Regions from separate parts of the Homo sapiens genome. Here regions 1, 3 and 4 are each linked to region 2. Evidence: promoter capture Hi-C in human tissues and cell types (Jung and others, 2019). All regions are on one chromosome and are shown on one strand. The core of a region is centred on a gene start or on the middle of the fragment in contact, and the rest is flanking DNA. Distances in the headings are between cores, read along the strand shown.

Region 1 (2,721 bases), core at 153-2,652, 390 kb after region 2:
TTGGGTTCATGTCAAATGGGCGCTGGCCCAGAAGCAGTTCTTTTTCTCCGTCTTCATGTGCAAGTGGGTGGGCTCTGCCCTTTCCCACTTCAAGCAAGGGCCTGACATGGCGAGGGGGCCTGCACCTGGCTGTGGGATGCCAGAGCTCCTGGGGCTGAGGCCACTGTGGGGCCGCCTCTCATATCCACAGTGGAGGGCACCAGACCCACATCTGGTTTGCCTCAAAGATCGTTGTGCCCCTGAGGCGTTTCCTTGCCCACAACAGGGACAGTCCCACCTACCACCCACTCTGGATACACGTATCCCTGGGTCCGGGGCCGATTATGCATTTCTTTCTTGTCATACCTGCAGAAACAGGTGGCATCTGCATCGCACCACGGCCCTCGGAAGAAGGGGCGGAAATCCTCCCTGCCATGGCGATGAGGCCCTTCTTTGGCATCGTCCCCGTCCTCATGGATGAGAAGGTGTGTATGGGCCTCCCCCACATGGGGGTCATGTGCTTGCCCTCCCTTGTCCCTGCCTGCCCAGCCCAGCTCTCTCCTGTGTGCCCAGGTCTGTACCTGGCAGGAGGCTGCTGACCTTGCAGCGTTCACTGCAGCTGGTATCATGCACTGGGTAGTGGCCACACAGGTGGCTTGGGGCCCTCCTCAGGGGCAGAGGGGAGAGCTATGGACAGCTCCCTTGAGGGCAGGGCTTGTCATTTTTTGGCACACTTCTCACCCAGAGCCTGCCCTGTCTCACTTGCATGTCCGGGGTCTACAGGGCAGCGTCGTGGAGGGCAGCAACGTCTCCGGGGCCCTGTGCATCTCCCAGGCCTGGCCGGGCATGGCCAGGACCATCTATGGCGACCACCAGCGATTTGTGGACGCCTACTTCAAGGCCTACCCAGGTGAGCAGGCTGTCAGGGACCCTCTCATTCCTTTTCAGCTGACTGCTGGAATCTTATTCTCAGAAAACATTTTTAATGGGATTTGAGTGCAGCGTAACACTGTGGCCAGGAATAGGTGCTCGCGAGGCCAGAGTTTGACTCCGCACCCCTCTCCCTTTGCTGTACCTCCCTGGCTTTCCTTATCTTGACAGTGGGAGTGATTCCCCACTCGGGGACTTTCTTGGGGCTACTTAGGTGTGGGTGTGAAGTCCTGCACTGCAGCCAGGCCCATGGTAGGATCCTGTTAGCTACGGCTGGGAGTTTTCTTCCAGTTTACTTTTATTTTTTCCCAGTTTCCCTTTTTGTCGTAAACAAGACTCAGTGTTTTGGAGAAGCATCTTGGATGTGCTGCTTGTATACCTTCTGCTCCCCAAAGTCTCGATATCTCGGAGCCACCTGCCCATGCTCTAGAACATAGGGAAGCATCGGAGTTGCAAGGAGGGCCGATGGGCGAGACTTCAGCCGCGTGCTGGGCTGCAGAGCTTCACGCTTACTGAGGTTGGGACATGGGTCCTGGCTCAGGGTTCCTGGTGCTGAATTTCCCTGCTGTGGTGCAGGCTATTACTTCACTGGAGACGGGGCTTACCGAACTGAGGGCGGCTATTACCAGATCACAGGGCGGATGGATGATGTCATCAACATCAGTGGCCACCGGCTGGGGACCGCAGAGATTGAGGACGCCATCGTGAGCACAGGCTGGGCCTCCTCCTTCACTCCTACACCTCCATGATGCCCCTGTGGACCTGCAAGTTGGGGTGGGAGTCCCTGGCCCGAGTCACTTCTAGCACCCGGGGCCGCCACATTTTGCCCTTTTGTTCTCTGTTGTACACAGGCCGACCACCCTGCAGTACCAGAAAGTGCTGTCATTGGCTACCCCCACGACATCAAAGGAGAAGGTGAGTGTCCTGGAGATGAGCTCCTCCCTGATTCCTGACCCCACACCCATTATGGGCACCTCTGTACGAGGAGCAGACTCTGGAGAGTGGAGTGATAGGGGATACTGTGGGCCAAGCTCTCAGTGTTCTTCTCTCTCAAGTGGAAACTGTAGGGGAGGAGGCTGAATAGCACTCGTGTTCGGTCGGGTTTCTGAAATGCCCTGGTTCTGCTGTCCTTTCAGGACACACATCCACAGTGGCCATGACCCAGTTGGGCTTGGCTAAGCTTGGGGGGTTTCCCCTTCTGTCCATGGTGTATCTGGTGGGGACACCGTCCAGCCCCATTACAGAGAGTTTATGAGAAAATGTCCAGCCTCATGTATCCTCACGGGCTTGGTCATAGCACTCAAGCCAGCTCTGCAGCCGCCACGCGTGTGTGCCAGAGTGTGCTCTGGAGTGTGCAGGCTGTGTGCTGCGCTGGGACTCTTTGGACGAATCTGACCTGTGGTTCCCACTGCACAGCGACATGCTGGGGGAATGCAGAATGAGGGACTAGAATGGCCTTTACCAAGGCCACGCTTTGTTTCGAGTCTGCCAGCTTCTTGGTGGCTGGGTCTGGGAAGGGGCGGGAGCACCTAGGTGTTGCAATGCCAGGTCCATCCAGGCACACTGCCTGGCCTGGCGTGACCTGGACACACACTGACCCCATGCCAGGGCACTGCTGGGCAGACTGGCTTCTCCTGCCCTGCCCAGTGGCTTGGGGTCAGGCTTGCCCTCCCGCTGGGAGGCCACCCTGTGTCACAGTGTGTCCCAGATGTCACCTTCCTCCCTGCACTTCTATGTGCCGTTATTCCATTATTTACTTAAATGCTCTCTTTAAATTGACGCATTGCAAGATTGAGAATTTGTTTCAGTGCT
Region 2 (3,014 bases), core at 388-2,887:
CTCTTCAATCCATTCCCCATATTGCTGCCGCAGTTACCTTCAAAACACAAAAATTACCCTATCACTTCCTTGTCTAAAATCCTCTACCAGCTCCCAGCATGCCTTATAAGTGAACAACAAATTCATGTAGGCTGTGAGCCACCTTCCTAGACTCCCCACAGGCCCTATTGGTCACCCTCTCCAGTGTGACCACGTGACTTTGTGCTGCAGCATCCTTTGGCTGGGATGCCTCGCTTCCTTCTCAGATCAGTAACCTCATCCTTGAGGATGGAAAGGCTCATATATCACCTCTTCTACCCCAGCTCATACTGGTGTTTCTCCTTCGTGCTCCTTGCTATACCTCCTTAGTATCACTTAGCGTGGTGAATTCTATTATCTGTTTTTGTGCCCATCTTCCAGCAGAATGTGTCCTGACATCCACATAATGCCTGCTCTATGACGTAAGTGAAATATACAATTTAGAGTGCAGGCTCTGGAGCCAGAGTGCCAGGGTTCAAATCCTAGCTTTCTTGCTGTGTCACCTTAGGCAATATACTTAAATCTCCCCAATCCTATGCATATATAGCTGAAAAAAGTAGAAAACAATAGTTTAAACATCAAAAAGTTATTTTTGTTTTGTTTGGGACAGGGTCTCCCTGTCACTCAGGCTGGAATGCAGTGGCAGGATCAAGCGATCCTCCCGCCTCAGCCTCCCAAAGTGCTGGGATTACAGGCAGGAGCCATGGTACCGGGCCCTCAAAGGGTTATTAGAAAGACAAAAGATAATGTACATGAAGTGCTTAGCACTCTCCCTGGGGTAGCAGTGATAGAAAAATACAAATAATCATAATATTAATAGTAACAGCAGCAGCAGGAGAAAAGTAATATTAATAGCTAACACTGACTCAGCCCTTACTGTATGTGAGGCATATGCAGAGACCCTTACACATGCCACTCATTTTGCGTCCACTACATCATGCGTTGGGTACTATTATTGTCACCATCCCCATTTTTGCGTATGAGAAAACTGAGAGCACAGAAAGCTTGAGTAACTGCCCCAAAGTCACACTACAGAACCAGAATCTCAGCCAGGTTCCAGAGGCCTAGCTTTTACTGACCACGATTAGATGCCTGAGTGAGCAAGAAATGCTAAATTATCAGGCAACCTGTAAATATTTTAAGGGACCGGAACAAATCTGTCCAAGGAAAACTGCTAAAATGCAAAATTTGCTCAGATGAGGAAATTCACCAAATCGCTGGGTAGCGTAAGCATGAATGCTTTCTCTTTCCTCCTGAATTTTGTTTTGCTGCTTCCCAAGTTTTCCGGAGCTCGGAGGGAACAAGGTGCGAAAGTGAACCCTGACGGGGAGCCGCCCCGCCCCAGAGCCCAGGGCCCAACGCCGGCATGCCCCGTCCAAGTCTACCCGCCCCTCACGTTGAAGGCAGGCAGTTGCCCTTCGGGCGCGCGATGCAGCTCGCGGATCAGTTCCATGGCTTTTTCGCAGAACATGGCGGACGCTTCCCACTCCCGCGGCCTTGCCAACCACCAGCTCTCACGCCAAAATGGTATCTGGGCTCTCGGCGCCTCACTCCTTTCGTTCTAGTCCTACAGCGCCAGGCTCTCGCCTCGGCCTCCGCTCCGCGCTTTGGCGCCGAACAAAGCTAGCCAATAGGAACGCGCCTACGGCGCCCGAAAAGGGACATCCACCGCTCAGCCGCATTCCAAGAGGGGCGGAGTGGGAGGGGTCTTTCCAAGGTGAGGTCCCCGCCCCGGAGATGGCAGAACCCCTCGGCTGAGCAGAGACGGCTTTTCCAGTTCTCAGGCAGTGGGCCGGGGGACTCTACGGGCAGCAGAGCTGGAAATAAATGCACGCCCCGCAGCTTCCTTGTCATTTTCCTTTTGATTCATTCATTCTCGTTTAGGTTCAAGAAAAGAGCACTTTGAGGTTAAGAGGAAAGGCCCAAAAACTTGGTGTGCATTGGTAGGACGCAAGGGTTTCAGTTTTGCAGTGCGGGTTTTCTGTTTGATATTAAAATGAAACTCTCTTTTATTGGGTACCTAGTGCTGGTAGGGACTGCAGTGTGTATTTCATTCCCACAATTATCTCTGAAGTGTTTTAAGACCCGGGATTAATAAGGAAACAGAAGTTAGGTAACTTGCCCAAGGTCACACAGCTCCAGAGTGATTAGACTGTTATTTAGGCTTTCCATTTCCAACACCACAGTACCACCCTTTGATTTTAAAATAGTCTTTTAAAAATATTTGTAATATCTGCCCTAGATTAATACGAATTCACTAGGAATTTTCTTGGCTAGATGGTTATGGAATATTTCTTAAGCATATGGAAGATGGGAATCACTGCTAAAGAATTGTTTTATTAGGCAATTTTTCAAAAAGCAATGTTAATTTCTAACAAGCAATCTTGGATTTTTTTTTTTTTGAGATGGAGTCTCGCTCTGTCGCCCAGGCTGGAGTGCAGTGGCGCGAACTCGGCTCACTGTAAGCTCCGCCTCCCGGGTTCACGCCATTCTCCTGCCTCAGCCTCCCGAGTAGCTGGGACTACAGGCGCCCGCCACCACGCCCAGCTAATTTTTTGAATTTTTTAAGTATAGACGGGGTTTCACCGTGTTAGCCAGGACGGTCTCAATTTCCTGACCTCGTGATCCGCCCACCTCGGCCTCCCAAAGTGCTGGGATTACAGGCATGAGCCACCGCAACCGGCGCAATCTTGGATTAATTCTAGCTAACCCTAGAAACTATGTTGATCTTTTGCAAATATACAGTAGATATGTCATCTAAGGAATGGGCATGGGAATGGCCTACTCAGGCTTATGTTGAATAATGACATTGCCTTTTTTTTTTGGAGACAGGGTCTTAACTCCCGTTACCCAGGTGGAGTGCAGTGGCGCCATCTCAGCTCACTGCAGCCTCCACTTCCCGGGCTGAGGTAATTTTCCCCCCTCAGCCCTCTGAGTAGCTGGGACTACAGGCTCAGGCCACCACACCTGGCTATTTTGTATTTTAAGTAGAGACA
Region 3 (2,785 bases), core at 32-2,531, 450 kb before region 2:
ATCCTATCTCACTCGGAGTGGGCCAAAATCGGATCTGAAGGGGAGTCCTGAGAACACAGCAGGCGTCCTGATGTCCCCCTCCCTCGGTGGAAGTCAGCTCAAGGTGGTCCTGAGGACAGGATTCCTCGGGGTTTGGCCCTGGGACACGACAAGACACCCGCGGCCCTCTCTCTCACGCCGCCCCAACTGGACCCCGGATCCAGCCACCGCGGCGGATGCAGCAGGAGCCTCGCTGCCCCAGCGCAGCGGCGGCGTTATTTAAAGGGGACGCAGCCTGCCTGTGAGGAGCGTAGCGCGAGTTGGCCCTGACAATGCGCATGCGCGAGGCGCGAGCTTCTTTTGCCCTCACAGTGGTTCCCACGGTTTTCTTAGAAACCACTCCCTGAGGCTTGGCAAAGCAGGAGCCCTCCGTGGCAGTGCTTGTGTGTCGGGGCTCTGAGGCTCTGGCCTGACCTCTCCACCGGGTCGACGGGAACGTCTCCGGATGCCAGGAGTCTCAAAGGGCCGACCAGGATGAGGAAACCCCAGGGGGAGTCCGGGGATAGCAGCACGGCATCCCAGCTTCAGGCCTGCCATGACGGTGTGGGTTGGGGTGAGTCTCCCCAAAAGTCGTGCCGCCGTCCGTGATCTCGACGACAGGTCGGCCTGCCTGCCCCTGGGGTGCTCTCTCACAGGAGGGTCGTTCTCGTCGAGAGCCGATCCCCGCAGACTCAGGGTTTGCCTGGGTGTGTGCGTTTCAATGCCTCTCCTGAATGACATTGTGTGTGTGTGTGTGTGTGTGTGTGTGTGTGTGTGTGTGTGTGTCTGTGTGTGTTTCTCCCATTCTCTCTTCTCTCTCTGTCTCTCAGTCTCTGTGTGTTTCTTTCCCTCTCTCAGTGGGTTGTGTGTGTGTGCCCGTGTGCGTGTGTGTCTTTGGCAGAATGTGCCCTGTGCGCCACAAAGCGGTTTCTCGCATGGCGGCCTGTCTTTGGTGACCCTCTTTCTGCGTCTCTGCCTTTGTCATGAGGCCGGTTGTCAATCGTTTTCGCCGCCCCGGATCCGCTTTGGGTGTGTGAAGTCCTGGCCTACGTGAAGAGATGCATGGGTCCGGGAGCAATTGAAATCTCATCCCCATCCTGAGCGGCCTCTCTCCTAAGATCAAAATGATCACACTGCAGCCGAGGACAAGAGCCCCACAGGAGCTCTTTGTCCCGCAGGAGAGCAGCGGACCCACGTCAGAGAAGATGCTTGTATCTTTTCACGGCTCTTCTCTGAGAAATGAAGCCACACCATGATACAGTCTGCAAGAGGAAGCCGGGAATGAGAGATGGCAACAATCCCTGTCACTGGAACGGTGACCTCGCTGGACAAGCCACCCTTTTGGAACCCCTCCCCTTATGCCTGTGGCGGTGGCATGGTGCTATATCCGGCCTGGGCTCCGGCCTCTGCTCTCTCCTCCCTCTTGCTCTGTCCTCCCTCTGCTCTGTTCTCCCTCTTGCTCCTTCTGCTCTGTCCTCCCTCTTGCTCTGCCTCCCCTGTCCTAGATGCCTCTCGCTCTGGCCACATGTCTTCCCTGTCCGTTAGGGACTTCCCAGTGCTTGACTTCCCAGTCTGTCCGGGAGACATTTCCTGGAGATCCCTGTTATGATTGTTTCTCTCTCCAAACCTCTTTCTGCTTGATTGGGCAGATCTCGTGACCGTGGAGCTCTTTGCTCCCATAAGTGTCTCAGACAGGAAAGCTTGCTTCTTCTCCATGTTTCCATTCATGGGTGGGTGGATTGCCTAGAATGAGCGCTAGGAGACCGGGACTGGCCTTGTCTTCTAGCACAGGTGGTGTCGCATTTCCTCTGCACTTCCTGTCTCATTCTCGAGGGACATCCTCTCCTCTTCTCATGGGTGGACTGTCTCCCTGGATCTTTTGGCCTTAACGAATGTCAGGGAAACAAGGGGACTGGGCTCGGTCTTGGGCTGGGGCTGGGGCTGGGGCTGGTGTTGGGGCTGGGGCTTGGTGCACAGGACGTTGTGTGAGGGCTACATGGGCGATGGAGCTTTGGCGTTGGGGTGAAATTTGCAGAACCCTCTTTGCTCCTCTGGCAGCAATTTCAAATTTTGTATCCGGTCAGTCACAAGCCCCCTCCTGGTTCCCAGGTGTTCTTTAAGTTTTCATTGCTGTGATGGAAATGTCACTTGTCCCCCCCTTCCACCGGGCACATGCTTAGACACCACCGTTTGTTTCGCCGTCGCCCCACATTCCTCTGGTTACACACATCCACGCCATCTGCTGTGGGATGGGCCACAGCCACACGTCATCGCATGGTCTCCACCTGGGATTCGCCCTTGTTCCTTTTTGCACGTGTCCTGTAAATTGCGGTTGGCTTCCGGAGCCCCATGGCTTTTAGAAGCCGGGCAGGCCAGTGCTCTTTCAAAGGAGAAGGGAGGCAGAGGGCTGATGGATCAGTGAATTTTCAGCTGACACCACGCCTTGAAACCCATGGGATCATTCTATGCTGCAGCGATGCCCTGCCTGCCTCAACAGATGTGGTGAGCCCATCCTATCTCACTCGGAGGGGGCCAAAATCGGATCTGAAGGGGAGTCCCGAGAACCCAGCAGACATCCTGTAGCTCTCCCTCCCTTGGTGGGAGTCGGCTCAAGGAGGTCCTGAGGACAGGACTTCTGGGGGTTTCGCCCTGGGACAGGACACCGGCCACAGCCTCTACCAGGCCGCTGCAAACTTTACCCTGGATCCAGTCGCTGCCGAGGCTGCAACAGGAGCCCATCTGCTACCGCGCAGTAGCCATTGTTTAA
Region 4 (2,719 bases), core at 124-2,623, 440 kb after region 2:
CCAGTAGGGTTTGTTTTTCATATTTAGATTCTGCTCTCGCATCGTTGGCAGCAGTGGCGCAGCAGTGAAGCTGTGCTCATCTTGGCGCGGCTGTCATGAGGGCGCGATACCAGTTTGCTCTGTTGGGGTGGTGGCAACTTTGGCCACCTGATTCAGGCAGGGAATGCCAGGTGTCTCCACCTGGACGTGGTTCTTTCATGTCTAATTACTGAGTTGCTCGCAGAGAGGTGGTTTTTGTAAGTAATCACCAGTGCCATCTTATGGTTTCCCATGTTCTTAATGGTGATTATGTTACAGTCATCATTGATTTTGATGCTCAAATTACCCATCTGTGGCCAGGAGGAGCCCCTTCAGTGTGGCTTCTGGGCCTTTGGGCATGTCCTCTTGTCTTGGGCTAGCTCCTCACTTTCCAGCACATAAGTCGTTCCAGTTTCCTCTTGTATTGTCCCTGCTTCAGCTCTGCAATCGGCCATTTCTCCCAGGAGCCCTGGTTCCTTGTGGAGGAGATCTGGGTGCTGAGTGTACTCGCTGCTTTGGGTGTCGCTGCTCCCAGGTCCCTAAGGGACAACGCTGGGAGTACAAGCACACGATGCATACTCACATATACCTGCACGCGTAGACATCACACACACACACCACTCACGCTTATGCCTGCATCTGTCATCTGTAAATTGAAAACCATGACAACACCACAGGACTGATCCAAGTTTTCTCCCCTTATTTTTCCCCCTATTTGTACCTCTCCAACAGTGAGAAACCTGGATCCCATTGTCCTCCCTAGGTTTACCTGTTCAACCATTTTCTGTGCATGTGACCAATCTGTGGTTGCTGTGCCCTGTCACATGGCCCCATCCAGGGCTGTAGCACCCCATGCTGGGCTGTCCCCTTCCTCCCTGACCATGTGCTGGAGGCTGCCTTTCGCCTCAAGGGCTGTGATCCCTGCACCGGGCTGTCCCTGGGTGTACACCTCCTCACTTGCATGGGCTCTCACAGCCTGATCTGGGCCTCACTGTGGGGACACCTCCTCACCCCGTGTGGGCCCTGACAGCCCGTGCCAGGCCACTCCCCTGCAGGGACACCTCCTCACCCAAGCGGAGTGGGCTTGTCTGGGTCACCATGGTCTGCCATCCCCTGCACACATGTACCCTGCTCAGCCCCATGCTCCTGATGGAGTTGTTTAGGAGGGGAGTGATGTAGTACAAAGAATGTTTTTAAAGAGAACTGCAGCTACTGCAAGGAGAACAGCTTGCAGCAGGGCTCAGCTGGCTGTGGGAGCCTGTGTGGAAGCTGTCTCAGTGACTGGGGAGAGGCGGCAGGGCAGGGCCCAGGCCAGGGACACACACAACAGATGGCAAGACTGGCAGCTGGGCTTGTAGGGCACAGAGAGACTGGGATCAAGGGAAGGCTGGGGTCCTGGCCCTGTCTCCAGAGCTGGGGAGGCTGTTGAATTTGAAGTGCTATTAGAAAGGCCAGGCAGACATGGGTCCCAGACAGTGAGAAACTTAGCACTGGTGTTGGAGATGGCGATTTGAGAGCTTTCTGGGAAAGTGACTAGTTGTAATAGTGAGAGAGGATGAGATCTCTTAGGGGGAAGAGAGAAGAGAGGAGAGTGGGAAGGATCCACGGCCGAACAGCAGGAGATGGCATTTCCTAGGTAGTGGGAAGCCTTGGGAATTTTTTGAGCTGTAATGCAGTTGATCTATCGCTGTTGAACCTAGAGTCTAGTCAGCTTGTCTGTCTGCTTGAACATTTCCAGTGACTGGGAGACATTATTCGTTGGACACTTGTTTGGGTATTTTCCCTTGTATTAAAAGCTAGAAATCTGTCTGTTAATTTCCATTCCTTGGTCTTAGGCAGTGGAGTGCTTTGTCATAATTTCCGACCAGGTGTCCTTCTGCTCTGCCAGAAATCACGCCTCTCGCCATCTGTTCTCTGCTTAATACTCTTCAACAGTCCCGTGTGACCACAGAGTCCAGGTCTAAGCTCTTTTGCCTCCGTCCCTGTAGGCGTCCCTCAGGATCTGCACGCCCCGCTTTGAGGAAAGCAGTGGGATTTTGCTTTTTGTTTTGGAAGCCATGTTGTGTGGTCTGTGGACCTGCTTGCTTTTTTTGAATGTGAGCTGCTCTCAAATCTCCATCATTTGCACCTTGCCTATTTGAAATGTTTTAAATCTAAACAGAAGACTTGTGTATTCCAGGGAAGCTGCGCTGGTTGTGATCTGGTGAGTGGAGGTCATTCTGAGCCTTGGCTGCAGTGCTGTGACCACGTCGGATGTGATATGTCTCTCTCAGTTCAGCCAGGCCATCCAGAGATGTGCTTGCGTTGCTGTCCTTGTGCTGGGGAGCCTCTTTGGCCTGATCTTCACAGGGACAGGGGTGGGGTGGGGCCTGCTTTGGGGCCCCTGGGCTGGGAGTGGGAGCTGGATTAGCTGTCCTGTGGGGCACTGCCCTGTGGGGCTGCCCTGTCATGGGAAGGAGTCAGACCGTTCCTGGATGGTGGGGGCGGCACGGTTGATCTGCGCACAGTGTTCTTGGCCAGCTGGTGAACTTTCCCTGCACTGTGCTTCCCTCTAGCTCTTTAGTCAAGAGACGGTGATGAAGTTTGTGCCGCGGTACAGCCTCGTCCTAGAACTCAGCGACAGCGGTGCCTTCCGGAGAAGCCTGCATGATCCCGATGGGCTGGTGGCCACCTACATCAGCGAGGTGCACGAACACGATGG

What was found. The method cuts DNA at HindIII sites, captures the fragments that hold promoters and counts their contacts. A contact is called where the count stands out against the background at its distance.
Region 1: a contact is called between a fragment that was not itself captured here and the fragment with the promoter of GINS1 in region 2, in 1 of the 25 tissues and cell types used here (IMR-90 fibroblasts).
Region 3: a contact is called between a fragment that was not itself captured here and the fragment with the promoter of GINS1 in region 2, in 2 of the 25 tissues and cell types used here (dorsolateral prefrontal cortex and spleen).
Region 4: a contact is called between a fragment that was not itself captured here and the fragment with the promoter of GINS1 in region 2, in 1 of the 25 tissues and cell types used here (lymphoblastoid cells).

What each region holds. Positions count from the first base shown.
Region 1 is chr20:25,011,704-25,014,424 of GRCh38, reverse strand. ACSS1 (acyl-CoA synthetase short chain family member 1) reads left to right here. Exons shown (of 14, transcript NM_032501.4): 9 at 352-464; 10 at 763-889; 11 at 1,486-1,613; 12 at 1,761-1,824. Among named protein-coding and RNA genes, the nearest start is that of APMAP, 20 kb to the right of the region's middle. The HindIII fragment of the contact is 3,542 bases long and covers 1-2,721 here.
Region 2 is chr20:25,406,296-25,409,309 of GRCh38, reverse strand. GINS1 (GINS complex subunit 1) reads right to left here and starts at 1,637. Exons shown (of 7, transcript NM_021067.5): 1 at 1,415-1,637. The coding sequence starts at 1,489. It overlaps LOC105372581 (a long non-coding RNA gene), which reads left to right and starts at 1,015. Exons shown (of 3, transcript XR_937403.3): 1 at 1,015-1,239. RefSeq lists enhancers at 491-1,248, 1,346-1,595. The HindIII fragment of the contact is 13,310 bases long and covers 1-3,014 here.
Region 3 is chr20:25,855,902-25,858,686 of GRCh38, reverse strand. No RefSeq gene overlaps it. Among named protein-coding and RNA genes, the nearest start is that of FAM182B, 61 kb to the right of the region's middle. The HindIII fragment of the contact is 6,623 bases long and covers 1-2,785 here.
Region 4 is chr20:24,963,877-24,966,595 of GRCh38, reverse strand. APMAP (adipocyte plasma membrane associated protein) reads left to right here. Exons shown (of 9, transcript NM_020531.3): 9 at 2,574-2,719. Among named protein-coding and RNA genes, the nearest start is that of CST7, 16 kb to the right of the region's middle. The HindIII fragment of the contact is 7,885 bases long and covers 1-2,719 here.